Regions from separate parts of the Homo sapiens genome. Here region 1 is linked to region 2. Evidence: promoter capture Hi-C in human tissues and cell types (Jung and others, 2019). All regions are on one chromosome and are shown on one strand. The core of a region is centred on a gene start or on the middle of the fragment in contact, and the rest is flanking DNA. Distances in the headings are between cores, read along the strand shown. Region 1 has its middle 190 kb from the start of HAPLN1. Region 2 holds the start of HAPLN1 (hyaluronan and proteoglycan link protein 1).

Evidence for each region. Contacts are between HindIII fragments. The study calls those that stand out against the background at their distance.
Region 1: a fragment that was not itself captured here is called in contact with the fragment with the promoter of HAPLN1 in region 2 in 1 of the 25 tissues and cell types used here (hippocampus).

Annotation. Positions count from the first base shown.
Region 1 is chr5:83,906,633-83,909,332 of GRCh38, reverse strand. No RefSeq gene overlaps it. Among named protein-coding and RNA genes, the nearest start is that of HAPLN1, 190 kb to the right of the region's middle. The HindIII fragment of the contact is 3,146 bases long and covers 1-2,700 here.
Region 2 is chr5:83,719,602-83,722,301 of GRCh38, reverse strand. HAPLN1 (hyaluronan and proteoglycan link protein 1) reads left to right here and starts at 1,447. Exons shown (of 5, transcript NM_001884.4): 1 at 1,447-1,513. The HindIII fragment of the contact is 27,926 bases long and covers 1-2,700 here.

The DNA of each region.
Region 1 (2,700 bases), core at 68-2,567, 190 kb before region 2:
CTCTATCTGGTTGGCAATTCAAATAAGTAAACAGCAAAAATTTAAGTATGGTATAATAAAAGCATAACTAGAATTATTTTTCTTTTTTAGCTTAAAACAAGACACATTTATCATCTTACAGTTCTGCAGGTCACATGTCTGAAATGGGTCTCACCGAACTAAAATCAAGGTGTGAAAAGAGTTGGGCTTCTTCTACAGGCTCTGGGAGAGAATCCATTTCCCTGCCTTTTCTATCATCTGAAGGCTGACTGTGTTTCTTCAGATGCTCATGGCCCCTTTGCATCTTCAAAGCCAGCAATTGTAACATTCTGGCCTCTGCTTTCAACATCACATCTCTTTCCCTGACTCTGTTTCTCCTGCTTTCCTCTTCAAGGCCCTCTGTAATTGCATTGTAAGGACGCCTGTGATTACATTGAGCCTACCAGATAATGTAAACTAATCTTCCTATTCTAAAGTCAGCTCATTAGCAACCTTAATTCCAGGAGCAACCTGAATTCCACCTTGCCATGTGACCTAATACATTCACAGTTTTCAGGAACTAGGAAATGAACATCTTGGGAGTGGGTGGTGGGAAGACATTCTTCTGCCTACTGCTCTTTCACATGCCATACAAGGCCCTTCACCATGTAGACTCAAACTGTCTTTCTGGTCTTATCTCCCACCACTTACGTATCGGTAACATATTGCTGCATAACAAGTTACCCTAAAGCTTAGTGGATTAAAATAACATGTATTATCTTGCCATTTCTGTTGGTTGGGAATCCAGGAATGGCTTAATTGGGTTATCTAGCTCAGCATCTCTCTCAAGGCTGTATTCAAAATGTCACCTGGGGCTGCTTTCCTCTCAAAGCTCAACTGAAAAAGAATCTGCTTTCAAGCTTGCTCACATGATTGTTGGCAGGATTCTTCCCTCCCTGGCTATTGACTGGAGGCTACTCTCAGTTATTTTCCACATGGGTTTCTCCATACGGCAGCTCACAACTTGGCATCTGGCTTCAACAGAGCAAGAAGCAAGAAGAGCCAGAGAGAGAATGCAAGCAAGAATGAAGTCGTTCTTTTGTAACCTCATCTCATCACTTTTGCTGCATCATATACATTAGAAGTGAGGCCTACCCACACTCTAGAGAAGGGGATTGTATAAGGGCATGAAAACCAAAAAGTGGTAGCATGGGGCCATGTTAGAACTGCCTAGTGCATCCCAATATGTACCCTGTGCTCTCCCCTCATAAAACAACCTATGTTCCCCAAGAAAGAAAAAAAGTGCTTTGTAACTCATCTTCCCTGTGCTCATTAATCCACTCATTCAAAAATATCTGTTTGACTCCTATTCAGCAACACTAGAACCCTGCTCAAGATACCATGAATCAGAGGGAGAAGTGATTAGCACTGCCTGGGAGGGGTTCCCACTGGAACTGAACTCTGCATTGAGTTTTGAAGAATTAGGAATGGTTCACAAGGGGAACAAGAGATGAAAGTCAAGTCTGAGCAAATGGGCGAAGAATGAAGATTATAGATCATGATCTTGTGTTTCAGGGAACTATAAAAGTTTCTGCAATGACGGAGTATAATTATTGAGCATCTAATGAGGGTATGAGGAAAATGGAACTGTGGGATGTGATGCTGGAATAATACCCAGGGGCAAGATGAAAGGTCATGATACAGGACTTGGGCTTATGAGGTAGAGGTGGCAGTGAAGGGTTCCAATTGTGAGATGAATAATTTGGATTGATGGCTCTGGCAGCCAGTGTGACAGGGAGTGGAAGATGCAAGAAGAGTAACAGACTGAACAGTTAAGAGGCTATTCCGGCAGCAAAAGCAAGCCTTTACCATGTCATGAGAAAGACAATGGCACTGGTAATACAGGAGTCGATTTCACTGAGACCAAAATCCAATGCTTCGTGAAATTCAGAAGTATGCTATGTGATTCCATTGCTCTCAAGTGTTCTTGGTTTTCCACAGTCATCATGTTGCATGTGTATTCCTAAGGAAAGAAGCACTAGAAAGCAAGTCTAGGGCAAAGAAAGATTCAAAACCTGATAGACAATTGACTTGGAGGGTTCAATGAAACCCCTAAATTTTTTGTGTGTGCATGTTTCTAAGTGGACCTATACTTGCATAAAATTCTCAAGGCATCTCTGATATAAAAACGGTGAGAATCACTATTCTATATACAAGCTATTCTCGTCTAGTCTCGTGTCATTTAAAATGCCTCAAAACATTTTTTAAATGCCTTTTGCCACTCATCACCTAATGACCAGACTACAATTTTTAATGGATTCTGAACTTTATGTCTTAAACCATTAATTGTTCTTGCTTACATGGCTGCGTACTTTGAGGCTAGATCTGAATATTTCTTACATGTTAATAAATGGAAGTAAAGATCAGCTATTCATTATAACACTACTAAGACTTTGCTTCTTGTAAATGGATGGGAAGTGGGAATATGACTTTGTATGGAAAAAATAACTTTCATAAAGCCTCTTGTTCAAGTACCTATTTCCTGGAAATGAATTGTTCCATACTTTGGAGATATAATCTAATGGAACATACTTCCCTGGGAGGTTAAGTGTTCTATTTTCTAATGTGAAGAACTATTTAAAACTGCCAGTGTAAAAAGAGTGGGTAAAACTTTAGCATTTCTCCCACTTGTTTAGTGATAACTTTTGATATTCTCTAGTCTGTGTGAATACAATCTCACCA
Region 2 (2,700 bases), core at 198-2,697:
ACGGCCCACGGAACCCTCTCCCCAACCCGCGCCACAGCCCGAGCGGCGGCGGCGGCCTTAAGAAGCCCGCAGTCCCGCCCGCGCCGCCCCGCCGGGGCCGGAGGTTGGAGCCGGGAGCACGGCCGCGAATCCCCGCACGTCCCCAGCGCTCCGCGACACCGGGCCCTGCTCGCTGCAACTCGGGGACGGCCTGCGTCTCGCCTCCACCCTGGCCGCGGGCCCCTCGAGCTTGTTTGCTTGTCCTCAGTCCCAGGGCCAGCCCCGCTCCCTCCTCCCGGCTGCTCCAACAGCCGTTTGCTTCCTGCGGTGTGTTTCTTTTTTCCCCTTCCTAGACTCCATCAAAGGTGGCTCTGTTATTGAAATATGAAGCCATTTCCTCTCCAAAACCCTTGGTTACTCAAGGCGGGAATCAATGGACCTATATACTCTCCCAGAAGTTATAAATAAACGTCTATTTGTTCAGGAGGCGTTTTCCCGCGTGTCCCAGCATCTTCCCCACTGGTTATTTCAGGGGTGTGTGTGTCTGTGTGTGTGTGTGTGTGTGTGTGTGTGTGTGTGTGTGCGCGCGCGCGCCCTGTGCCCATCTGGTTCTAATCCTGGTTATGGATCCACAACCCAACCCCACCCATCCCGTCTCCCCCTCGCATTCCTCGTTCTATAAATAAATCCAGGTTCTTTGAGCTCTGTCATCCAAGGATACAATAGCAGTTGTTTGTTAAGAGAAATTTAAACTCAACACCAATACTGAGTCCAGTAAACCAGAAAATATGCTTCTGGTGATTTGGGTGGAAGGCCATCTCCAGTTTAAGAAGCTTTATGTGCCACTATCATCATTGTCTGTTATCCTTGATCTCCTTTGGTGAGGGGAAGGCGGGAAAGAGAGGACCTCTCCGACCCTTGGATTTTTCTTTTAAGCAGAGGCTAATAAAACAAAGCGCAAACTGACTGTCCTGAGGAGTCTGCTCACACCGCTGCCCCGCAGATCATTCCACAGACCCCTTGTCCCATCCCTTCTGGACAGACCCAGGACTGATGAGGGTTCGGGTTCGGGAGGTGTGGTGTGGTGGGGGCTTGTGTGGCTGTAGCGGCCGGCTTTCCTAAACCCCAGAGCGGGATACTCGGGATCTGAGCAGAGGGGAAAGTCATCTAAGAGGCTGCTGCTTTACAAGGTCTGGGCACAGAGCTGCCCCTCCCTTCCTCCCTGAAGTTTGCATGAAGTGCACATTAGGCTGTAATTAGGGGATTTGGGAGGAGAACTTTCCTGGTGACGCTTTGCTTTTCTTCTGCTCTTGGTGAGAAAGTGCCTCCTTCTTCCCAGGATCAGGACCTCTGCCATCCAGCGCCACAAAGAGACATTCTGCACACACACTCACACACGCACACACACACACACTCTCACACTCGCCCAGAGACAAACTTAAGGTGAGGAGAAAGAGCGCTAGCTTCACTTGATCTCCAGCTTCCAACTTAAGCAGAACTTGAGAGCATCCGAACTCCTGGATTTCAGGACAAGGTAAAACTTGCAAATTGTTTCCCCCTCTTTTGGTTATACCTTTGTGCCTTTAAGATTTCAGAGGGCAATACACATGCAATGTATATATACATTAAACAAATTTTATTCTTTTCTTTTGAGTTTAGTTTTCATTTGAATTTAATATGACACCTCAACTTTTAAAAAAGTTTCATATTGTCGGATAAAATATTTCACTACAATAAACAGGCTCAGTCTAAAAATGGAGAAAGAATTAACTCTAGTATCTTAGCTTCTGCTAGTGCTCCTGTAAATCTGGTAGGGTCATGGTTTCCAAGTGGTGACTTTTCTATCTGTATCTCAACAACCATTTTTATAGCACCTGAGATGAAACAAGGATAGTATAGGCTGAAGGGAAAGGTGAGGAATGGGAATGTCCAGCCAGGCTTATGAATTTTGTTTCAGAGAATATATAGGGTTATGTGAAAAAGAAAGTTACTTTAGGCATAGGTAATACCTGTTAGATTAATAATCTTAGAAATGTTGCCATTTTTGGCCCAGGCTTCCTTCTCCAGCTAATTATGAACTTAAGATCATAGAATGATGATGCATTTCATATATACAATGATGTTGATGGATAATTTGAATGCACTGAAGAGAATTTATAGTCATAGTTAAGATTACTGTTAAAAGTTGCTTAAAGAAATTATTTGTATGTTGAGACTGTTCCCCACCAAAAACAAACCTAAACTTGTTTGGGCTTCGATTAAGTAGTTTTCTTCCATTGAATGTGACTGTTGTGTTCAAAATAAGATGGCTTATTAATTTGAGAATAAGTTGCTTTATTTTCATTTATCACTGGAAAAATACACACAGTGGCCAGTACATTTGGGAATTTTTAGGGTGGAAAGTGTTCCTGTACATGTTCCAGTGTGATGTCATAAAATCAAACATACTGGCTGGCTTCTTGGAAGCTAATAGTTCTTAAGAAATTAAGGCTGTGGATTGATTTCTAAATGAATGTAATATTTATTCATTACAATTGTAGTTTCTGGTAACTATTTCTATGTGATTATTTCTGTGTACTAAATTTGCAGAGATTTTATACACATTTCAGTCATTTCAGTATTTTAATGGAATGGGAATATTGTTCTATCAAAAGTATATCATAGTAGTTATCTTTGGAGAATTTTTAATGTGATATGATTCATAATTCTTATATCAGTTAA